4 separate regions of the Homo sapiens genome follow, and regions 2, 3 and 4 are each linked to region 1. The links are contacts of gene promoters, found by promoter capture Hi-C in blood cells and fetal thymus (Javierre and others, 2016). All regions are on one chromosome and are shown on one strand. Each heading gives the region's core, a stretch centred on a gene start or on the middle of the fragment in contact. The rest is flanking DNA. Distances are from core to core; before and after follow the strand shown.

Region 1 (2,702 bases), core at 93-2,592:
GGCATTCAAACCTTGTGTATCTCTTCCCACACTGAATCATGACTAATCTGAGGAGAATGTATTGAGGAAATCATGATGCATGATTTCCAAAACTAGGTCATAAAAGCTTTGGCCTTGGCCTCTTGGATTGCTCACTTTGGGAGAAAGCTACATGCCATGTTGTGAAAACCCTCACATGGGAAGGAACTGACGCTTCCTGCCAACAACCAGCACCCACTTGACAGCCATGTGAGTAAACCACCTTGGAGGTGGATCCTCCAAACTCAGTCAAGCTTCAGATGACTTCAGCCCCACATGACACCTGACTGCAACCTCAGCAGAGACCCTCAGCCAGTACCACCCAGCCAAGCTGCTCTTGAATTCTGGGTCCACAGAAACTGTCAAAAGATAACAATGTTTATTGTTTTTAGCCACAAAGCATTAGAGTAGTTTATTATCCAGCAGTAGATACATAATATACTCTCCATGGCAGGACTTGTTTTGAAAGTGGTGGATAAATCTAATTCCTGTGGAAGGAATAACTAAAATCTGTTTCCAGGCTGGGCCGGGACACACATCCCAGTACAGGGCAGGAAAGGGCTCTAAGCCAAATGTTAATAGCTCTTTCGCTAAACTTCGAAAATTGTCCTTAAAAAAATCTATTTCCCTAAAGCACGCCACATATTGGAGTCCCAGCAGCACCTATTTTGTGTCTTCAAAAAACACAATTGGAAAACAAAACAATACAAACTCACGAGTACATACTATGTGCCAGGCACAACTGTAAATAATTTACCTATCAATTAACTAATTTAATGAATTAACCCTGAACAGCCTCAAGAGGTTGGTACCACCATCATAATACCCATTTAATAGACAAGGAAACCGGGGCAAAGAAACTTGCTGCAGGTCACACAACTAGCAAGTGGTGCAGCTGGGTTTCTGGACCTACGTAGTCCATACACATTCGGCCTTCTGAGTAATGGGTTCGCCTTTCCCCACACCCACTTTTCCCACTGCAGCGCACCCACACAATCCAGACAGTTTTGGCGCATGTGAAGGGCGCGATGGTCCCTTCATTATCTGGAAGGACACCCAGAGTGGCAAATGCCAGATAACCACGAATAATACCCAGGATAGTAACCATTCTGTGGCCTGAGCTGGCCAGACGTCATGCCCCGAAGGAGCTACCAGGTGTGGGCGCTGCAGGACCCCTGCCTGGGGCCGCCCGCTCGGGCCCGTGTTGTCTCAGGCAGTAGGGACACTGGCGCTGACGGCGGGGGTAGGAAACCACAGAGACTGGCAACTTCCCAGGTTCCTAGAGAGGAGGGGCATGGAAAACGCACTTCCGGCGGAGGGTCTCAAGCTTTCCCCGGTGTCGGCGGCAGGTGGAATTTCCACGCTTTATCTGCGCCTGCGCCGCGCGGGATTCGCGGTCCGAGCTGAAGAGGTTCGCGGTCCGGGTAACTGATTGGTTTTCCTGGGGCTTGTTCTGCCTGGTTTTGCAACCCCTTTGCTTTTTGGGGTGAGGAGTTGGCGGAAAGGAGAGGGGCCCAAGTAGCACAGAGGGCATTTGCGGGGTGCGAGGCAGCATCAATCTCACCGGTGCTTCTTTATTTTCTCTTCAGTTTCACTTCTCCGAACCCTGAGGCAGTGTGTGAAGCTGGGACGCCAGCCATGTTCCAGACCGCTTGGCGCCAGGTGAGTGAGCATCCTCTCCCTCCCTCCCACCCTTTAGATGTCAAGAGAGAGCAGGTGTCACCTCTGCATTCAGATCTTGAGTTGTGTAGGCCAGTGGCTTCCATTGTGCATCTGTCACTATGAGAGGGATGGAGAGGTGAGAATGCCCAAATTAAGACTAGAAAACTAGTGAGTGTGGGGGGATTGGTTGGGATTTGGCATTTGAAGCCAGCTTAAAAATAAAAATTATGAAATGTGGAAATCTGCATTATTACATCCAATAAAGACCCCTTTCACCCTAGTCCGCAGGCTTGGAGAAGTACTTACTTCTTCAGTATAGCAATTCTAGTAACTGTTTTGTAGATTCCATTGTATTTTCTACATAGGTCATCTATGAGTAAAGATAGTTTTACTCCTTTCTTTCCAGTCTGGATGCCTTTTATTTTATTTTGTCTTGCCTTACTGCACTGGCTAGAAGCATTATTTCAATATTGAACAGAAGTGGTGAGAGCAGATATCTTTGTCTTATTTATGCTTTTAAAGTGAAAGCATTCAATCTTTCACACTGAAGACTGATGTTCACTGTAGGTTTCTTGCTTTTTTGTTTTGTTTTGTTTTGTAAATGTCCTTTATCAGGCATTCTCTTCTAGTACTACTTTGGTGAGAGTTTTTATAGGAATGGATGTTGGATTTTGACAATTGCTTTTTCTGTGTCTATTTAGATGACCATATGGTTTTTTTTTTTTTTTTTTTTTGAGATGGAGTCTTGCTCTATCGACAGGCTGGAGTGCAGTGGCGCGATCCTGGTTCACTGCACCCTCCACCTCTGGGGTTCAAGCGATTCTCCTGCCTCAGCCTCCCGAGTAGCTGGGACTACAAGCACGCGCCACCACACCCAGCTAATTTTTGTATTTTTAGTAGAGACCAGGTTTCACCATGTTGGCCAGGATGGTCTCGATCCCTTGACCTCGTGATTCCCCCACCTTGGCTTCCCAAAGTGCTGGGATTACAGGCGTGAGCCACCGTGCCCAGCCTCTCTTTGT
Region 2 (2,702 bases), core at 53-2,552, 1.4 Mb after region 1:
CTGTAATCCCAGCTACTCCGGAGGCTGAGGCAGGAGAATGGCATGAACCCAGGAGGCGGAGCTTGCAGTGAGCCAAGATCACACCACTGCACTCCAGCCTAGGCAACAGAGCAAGACTCCATCGCAAATAAAATAGTTAAAAATAAAATAAGAAAGCTGAAAAAATAAAATAAGAAAGGGTTAGGTGTGGTGGCACAAGCCTGTACTCCTAGCTACTTGGAGGGCCAAGACAGGAGGATCACTTGAGGCCTGGAGTTCGACACCAGCCTGGACAGCACAGCAAAACCCAGTTTACAAAAAAATTTAAAACTTTGCCAGGCATGGTGGTATACATCTGCAGTCCTAGCTACTCAGGAGACTGAGGTGGGGGAATCGCTTCAGTCCAGGAGCTCAAGGTTACAGTGAGATATGATCATGCCACTGCAAGACGAAGGAAAGGGAAGGGAGGGGAGAGTATGGAAGGAAAGAGAAAGAAACAAGAACCGAAAGAGTAAGGGCATGGGTGTGAGCAGCTACACAACAAGTGCAGGAAATCGTGAAGACAGGGTGTTGCTGGAACACAAAGCCAAAGGTGGGGTTAAGGGGTGAGGGGGGTGGCAAGGTGGGGGGTGAGGGGAGAGATGGGGTGAGAACTGTTAGTCTGGGTCCCCCAAGAAGCAGACACCAAGACAGAATTATCCACACAAGGATTTTATTACAGGAAGCGTCTATGAGAAAAAAATGGGAAAATCTGGTCAGATTGCAATGTACGATGGACTCCATGCAAAGAGAAAGGGAAAGAAGATTAGATGAAAGCATCCTTAGATAGATGCCATGCAGTCTTAAGAAAGGTTCTTCAGGATCATCAAGAATCCCTGAACCAGGCCAGGTGCGGTGCCTCACACTTGTAATGCCAGCACTTTGGGAGGCCGGGGTGGGCAAATCACCCAAGGTCAGGAGTTCGAGACTAGCCTGGCCAACATAGTGAAACCCCGTCTCTATTAAAAATACAAAAAAATTAGTCAGGCATGGTGGCAGGCACCTGTAAGCCCAGCTACTCGGGAGGCAGGAGAATTGTTTGAACCTGGGAGGCAGAGGTTGCACTGAGCCGAGATCACACCATTGCACTCCACCCTGAGCAACAAGAGCAAGACTCTGTCTCAAAAAAATAAATAAATAAATAATAAAAAAAATAAGAATCCCTGAACCAGGCTGGGCACAGTGGCTCATGTCTGTAATCCCAACACTTTGGGAGGCTGAGGTGGGCAGATCATTTGAGGTCAGGAGTTCAAGACCAGCCTGGCCAACATGGTGAAACCCCATCTCTACTAAAAATACAAAAATTAGCTGGGCATGGTGGTGTGCTCCTGTAATTCCAGCTACTTGGGAGACTGAGACCAGAGAATTGCTTGAACCCGGAGACAGAGGTTGCAGTGAGCTGAGATCACGCCACTGCACTCCAGCCTGGGCAACAGAGCAAGAGCTCATCTCAAAACAAACAAAAAAGAATCCCTGAACCAATGTCAGCCACCAGAGTGTCTCCTAGGAACAGGCCTGCCTTAGCATCCCCTCCAAGCTCAGTCATTAGCTGGGTGCAGTCATGAGAAGCATGGCCTCAGAGCAAAAGCACTGATGAATTTCTTCAAGTAGTTGGAGGCCTTGGTCAGTTGTACCTGCAATTGAAGGACAGTGAAGCACAATCTTCTGGCCACAAGAACAGAGAGGCAATCAGGGACCAGACCGTGGAACCTGAACCCTAACCTGTAGGTAGAGGATTCTAAATTTGAAACTCTTTTCATAAATCAGCCCAGATTTCTAATTTCTCTAAATCAATCAACAACACTGGGCCAAAACTGAGCGTAGTTTGACATAACCCCCATTAATCCCTCTTACACTAGGCCACATTATTGATTTATATAACTTTTCTGTCCCTGAATTTGGGAACTATGATCCAGCCAACCCCTATCTTTACACAGGAAATTAAAACTCCTAGCAGCTATGTGACACTACTCTGAAGGTTACAAAGAAGCAAAGGCAGAACCAGAATCCAGATGTCCTTATTAGAAGCTCTTTTCGATATTATTTTTATGCAGCCTAACCAAAATTTTTGCCCTAAAATCAGCATCAATGTTAACAGATTCTTTATGGCTGTATACCACCACTGACCAATCATCAACCCCACCCCAGTACCCACCTACTCAAATATGTCAAAAGGTAGGGTGATTTTTTTCATGTGCCTTGCTCATCGCCATACTTAGACAGTGAATTCTCAAAGTCTCCAGGAAAACAGAAGTGGTTTTACACTCTATTTTTATCTTAATGCCACAGGGATGTAAAAGTTAACCACCTATGAAGTACACGATCCCAAAAGGTCAGGGCTGATTCTGCCCTGCTGGTTACGAAAGCGTCCTCTCCCCTGGCCAAACAGACTAACCTGCCCTGTCATAGAGACTGTTCTTAGATTAAGTTCAGAAGTAAGCATCACTGCTAGAATGTCTGACCTATTTTTCCAAAACACAGCTCTCTTCCCCTTACTAAATATGCATTTATACTGAAATATACCATTGACCTTGTTTTCTATAAAATTATACACAATAATTCAGAACTTCATATCCTACTAACATAGACCACAACAGTCATTTTCAAAGAATACTGATAATTCTATGGAATGCAATTTAAGGACATTAAAAGCCTTCTTCTTGGGCATGAAATCTTACCATATA
Region 3 (2,702 bases), core at 125-2,624, 1.4 Mb after region 1:
ACCTGTAATCCTAACACTTTGGGAGTCAGAGATGGGAGAATCACTTGAGCCCAGGAGTTCAAAACCAGCCTGTGCAACATAGTGAGAGACCTTGTCTCTAAGAAAATAAAAAAACAATAACAGTTAATAAAGTTTCCAGGAGTACCTTAGATAATCCCAGAATTGTATTTGTAATATTAGGAGAAGGGCTATTTTTAATATTCTAAAATTTATCATTGGAATGCCCATAAAAATTGCCTATGAGTAGAGTCATCATTACATCAGAATAATTTATGATAATTATTTAGGACTCTGCTTTTGATAAATATGTGCTCTGTAACTACTTAATAAAGTCATGAAAAATAATTTTTAAAATATAAACGTTACTTACATATCCCAGTTTGGAGCTATCCGCAAATGCTGGATTAGCAATTGGAACTAGAATAAGAAATTTAAGTGTAAAGAAAAGAAAAAATTAAAATGTTTAAGTCACAAAACACAGAAAATGACAGCAAAGTTAACAGCTCAGGACTTTATACAAAGGAAATTTACACTGTACACCAAAAATGGTATTTACTAAATTACAAAGGCACTAGTATACGAATAAGATTAAAATAAAAACTAAGAACAGTATTTTTAGTTTCTCCTACCACTTTATATTCGCTAAATGACTGCCCTTACCTGATAGACACACACCAACTATCAAAAAAAGTAACCTTAATACTATCCTGGAAGCAAATGAACTTAAATTTTTTCAAGCCAATTCCCAAATGAGGGACCACTATAGAAAACACCTCCGAACCACTGTAATTCCTCTCTGAGGATGACTTCAAAAACTCTGCCAATCGATGCTTAAACATGAGCCAAAAGAAACAAAAACCAAAAAAACTCTGACAAATTCCCTTGAGCTTACCAACAGACCAAGACAGTCCAAAAAGTAATATTCCCAGGGGAAGAGGAAAAAAATGTCTTAGAGGATTGATGTCTTCCTTCAATGTCACATCAGAAACCCTGCAGTTTACCAGATGACCCAGTAAAGGAACCGACACCCCCGACCCATTCCACATGGGGAGTTCATTCCAGTCACTAATGAGAAGGTAAAAGGTCTGTCTTATGATATCACTTTTTTTTTATTTTTATTTTTTGAGATGGAGTTTCACTTTTTTTGCCCAGGCTGGAGTGCTGTGGTGCGATCTCAGCTCACTGCAACCTCTGCCTCCCGGGTTCAAGTGATTCTCCTGCCTCAGCCTCCCAAGTAGCTGGGATTACAGGAGTGCACTGCCACACCCAGCTAATTTTGTACTTTTAGTAGAGACAGGGTTTCACCATGTTGGCCAGGCTGGTTTCGAACTCCTGACCTCAGGTGATCCACCCACCTTGGCCTCCCAAAGTGCTGGGATTACAGGCATGAGCCACTACGCCCAGCCTGATTTCAGATTTTTTTTTAAATCTTACAAGTTAACATAAAATGGAAACCTGAGTATTACAAACAAACAAACAAAATAAGTTCAAAATCACCATCTACTGTCATCTACTTTAGGACCTAAGGATTAAGCAGAGGATAATTTTCATAAACCTAAAATCGTGATAAATCAGTTTTTTTGTGGTAGTTAAATCAAATTGTTATTTTAGCACTTGTTTGAGCCTCTATAAAAACACAAATTAAAATGCATAAGGCATGTCACACAGGCTTACCAGGGGGGAATGGAGGAGCCTGGTGGCCACCTCCTGGTGACCAGCCACCACGCACAAATAGCAAAGGAGATTCAGCTTGGCTCGGGAGGCCCCCATGCTCTTCTCAGTGGAGTCGATCTGCGAGCACACTTGTTGCAAAAAGTCATTCCAATCTTGATCTTTCAGAAATAATAACTTATCCACTGCGATGGAAAGAAAATAATAAAAGTACATATGATGAGAAAAAGAACTGCTGGAAACATTACATAAGAAATAAACACAGAATTACGACAGCTAAGATGAGGACAAACATTACACTGTCAAAACCAAAAATACTCCAAAGATGACACTATTTTTATTCGTCCTTCTATATTCCTAATCTCTTTATCTATCCACGGAAACTTTTTAACCACTTCAATGGAAAACTATACTTTCAAATAAAGCAGATGTCTAAAGCAGAACTGTCCCACAACCTACACTATAACAAAATGCAAAGTTCAATACAACTGGAGTAAAAGACAAAAGAGCCTTTGTATAAATAAATCAACTCTCAAATATTGAGAAAAGCACAAATCCTACAGTTCTTAAAAAGTTCCAATAAAATTATTGTAAAAAAAATAACGAGAATAACATGATAGCTAAAAATCACCTGAAATTCCTACCTCCAAATCCCTATACAAAAAAAAGGCAAAATCTAGGAAATGTGATACCCCCTAAAATTAACATATTTTTGGCTGATCTCTATCTTTAGACAAAATAAATTGTAAATATAATCTCCTAAATAACTCAAAGAAGAAAAGGGAAATAGTATTTCCAGGTGATAATTCTCTAGGTTTGCGTAAATAGTCCTACTTGGCACTGAAAGCACTATTAATAATACTTTGCTTCACTTGGCCTTTCAAAAACGTCCTTCTACACAGTTTCTTTTTTGTTTTTATCAGTAATTAAGTTGACCAATATAAACCCTTAGCTGGTTTATTTAAACCTAAATATATTTTAAATTTACTTCAAATCATAGATTCTACTCTAGCCACGATGAATAATTTTCC
Region 4 (2,702 bases), core at 124-2,623, 1.4 Mb after region 1:
TTACAATGGAGCTCTCTGGCAGCACTACTTTAATCAAATGATCAAAGTAGGTGCAACTATTAAAACCTGACACTGCATGCTTCCTGATGAGTTCAAATATGAAGTACCCAGTATCACCTATGATATGTTCTTACCAAAAAAAAAAAAAAAAGGTTCAACCTAAATCTAATGAAGCGTCCAGACCTAACCTACAGTTTATAGGAAATGTGTGGACTAGAGGAATAAGTTAGCAATACCAAAAAAAGCAAGCAGACAAATCTGGAATGTGGAATATTCAACAGGACAAACAGCCTGGACTCTCCAAGAATCAATGTAATGTGGCAAGAAAAAATAGAGGAACAATTCTAGAAAAAAACATGAGGAAAGAGACTCCAACAGTGAATTATAGAGAGCACCAAGTTGTTTCTTATAATGATGCAAAGGTGATTTATTTTTAGGAATTCCATTAATATAATCCACCTATTAATAGAGATAGGAAGAAAAATTAAATACTCCTATCTTCTGATGCCATACCAAACTCAATAACCATTAATGTTAAAAACAAAGAGGAAACTGGTAAATACTTATTTAACATGATTTTATGCCAACACCAAGTATTCATGAGAATACAGAGCACTGAACATTCTTTCATTAGTCAAAGCATTTTAACTTATACAACCTTACTGGAAAACAGTTTAGATTACCCCCTAAAGTTGAACACACACATATCCTGTAACCTACCAATTCCATTCCTACACATATCCAACAGAGAGCTTGCGCAAGTGCATCAAAATGTGTGTGCAAGGCTTTTAATAGCCAAATACAGAAAACAATCCAAATGCCCATCACCAGTGATGTAGTATACTCATGTAATAAAAATGAACTACAGGTACAGGCAACAAGGATGAATTCCATAAACATAATATGAAATAAAAGAAGCCAGATACCAAAGTATACATATCATATGACTCAATTTAAACAAAATTCAAAAGCCGGCAAAATCATGACAGAATTGGAAGTTACGGTAACTTCCTTTGGCACAAAGGGAGAGAACAGTGATCAGGAGAGAGCACAAGAGGATCCCCGGGTATGCTGGCAATGTTCTACTTAATGTTCTGTTTCTTGACCCAGTGACAGTTTATTGGGTTTTCACACTTGGCAATAATTCATTAAGCAATACATTTATGTTTTGTATGTATTTCCAACACTTCAATAAAAAAGAATTATAATTTTCAAACCAGAAAGAAAGTACAAAGTAATCTCTAAATATCTAAAAAAAATTGAAAACATATGTAACTATATATCATATTGGTGACAAAAGTACAAAGTGAAGAATTATATAAATTGCTTTTAAAACTCAGCGTTTTGACTGTACATATCATCCAGTGGGTTATATCCCAAGGGAAAAAAAGTACTTAAAATGCACTTTGTAGTTTTGTTGTTAGTAACAATACGTGTACTATTTTTAAACTATTCTAAACTCTAAGCTAAAAAAAAAGATAATTATGTTAATGTTATTAATGGCCAAGAGTGTTTTTTTTTGAGACAGAGTCTTGCTCTGTTGCCTAGGCTGGAGCGCAGTGGTCCGATCCCAGCAGCCTCCGCCTCCTGGGTTCAAGCAATTCTCATGCCCCAGCCTCCCAAGGAGCCAGGATTACAGGCGTGCATCACTATGCTCGGCTAATTTTTGTATTTTTAGTAGAGATGGGGTTTTGCCATGTTGGCCAAGCTGGTCTCGAACGCCTGAACTCAAGTGATCCACCCACCTCAGCTCCCAAAGTGCTGGTATTACAGGCATGAGCCACCGCCCCAGCCAGGAATTTTAGCTTATGAGAAGAAAAATAAAAATTGTAAATCAAAAGGTAAAAACGAATTTTAAATCTGAATTGGAGCCAGGCGTGGTGGCTCACCGCTATAATCCCAGAACTTTGGGAGGCCAAGGTGGGTGGATCACCTGAGGTCAGGAGTTTGAGACCAGCCTGGCCAACATGGTGAAACCCCATCTCTACTAAAAATACAAAATTAGTCGGGCATGATGGTGCATGCCTGTAATCTCAGCTACTCAAGAGGCTAAGGCAGGAGAATCGCTTGAACCCGGGAGGCAGAGGTTGCGGTGAGCCGAGATCGCGCCGTCGCACTCCAGCCTGGGCAACAAGAGCAAAACTCTGTCTCAATAAAAAAATCTGAATTGGAAAAGCAGAATAAACTGTGAATTTTTCTCTTTTTAAGAAACAATAGTACCTAGATCTAACCTCTGAAAAGCTCTACCAGGAAAAAAAAAAAAAAAAAAAAACCTAGAGAACCCAGATTGAGTTCTCTAACTACATCTTCTAACAAAGTAAACAAGATTCCTTATAGAAGTGGTTTCAAAACTAGGGGTTGACTATTCCCGAAACAAGCCTATGAAAGCTCACTGCCGAGAAGCCAGCAAGCTGTCAGAGACAGGAGTAGGCTCATGTCAAAGGGAGAAAGGAGCAAACTTGAAAGAGCTCCCACTGGATGGAGATGAAACAATGTAAGCATCAAAAAGACTAATGACTGCAAAGGACTAGACGATATACATATACATATATACACCTGTAAGTTCTTAACAATATAAAATCAATCTCACTAGACACGGAGATTTCTCAGGTACCAACTCTTTATTCTGAAAACTGACCTATGAAGAGGAACAATCAAGCATTTATCCTGCCTTGCAAAACAAACTCTATTTTAAGGATAAC

The links. Contacts are between HindIII fragments. The CHiCAGO score rates a contact against its expected background, and 5 or more counts as called.
Region 2: a fragment that was not itself captured here is called in contact with the fragment with the promoter of ZNF620 in region 1 in 1 of 17 cell types (M1 macrophages); the score reaches 6.6 in M1 macrophages.
Region 3: a contact is called between a fragment that was not itself captured here and the fragment with the promoter of ZNF620 in region 1, in 5 of 17 cell types (naive CD8 T cells, naive CD4 T cells, activated CD4 T cells and 2 more). The highest score is 7.3, in naive CD8 T cells.
Region 4: a fragment that was not itself captured here is called in contact with the fragment with the promoter of ZNF620 in region 1 in 14 of 17 cell types (naive B cells, M2 macrophages, M1 macrophages and 11 more); the score reaches 13.0 in naive B cells.

Annotation. Positions count from the first base shown.
Region 1 is chr3:40,504,697-40,507,398 of GRCh38, forward strand. It overlaps ZNF620 (zinc finger protein 620), which reads left to right and starts at 1,343. Exons shown (of 5, transcript NM_175888.4): 1 at 1,343-1,442; 2 at 1,608-1,680. The coding sequence starts at 1,657. The HindIII fragment of the contact is 1,073 bases long and covers 271-1,343 here.
Region 2 is chr3:41,922,028-41,924,729 of GRCh38, forward strand. All of the region lies in intron 5 of ULK4 (unc-51 like kinase 4), which reads right to left. Among named protein-coding and RNA genes, the nearest start is that of ULK4, 39 kb to the right of the region's middle. The HindIII fragment of the contact is 5,614 bases long and covers 1-2,702 here.
Region 3 is chr3:41,895,148-41,897,849 of GRCh38, forward strand. It overlaps ULK4 (unc-51 like kinase 4), which reads right to left. Exons shown (of 37, transcript NM_017886.4): 15 at 1,675-1,856; 16 at 371-417. Among named protein-coding and RNA genes, the nearest start is that of ULK4, 66 kb to the right of the region's middle. The HindIII fragment of the contact is 3,983 bases long and covers 1-2,702 here.
Region 4 is chr3:41,875,831-41,878,532 of GRCh38, forward strand. All of the region lies in intron 17 of ULK4 (unc-51 like kinase 4), which reads right to left. Among named protein-coding and RNA genes, the nearest start is that of ULK4, 85 kb to the right of the region's middle. The HindIII fragment of the contact is 3,624 bases long and covers 1-2,702 here.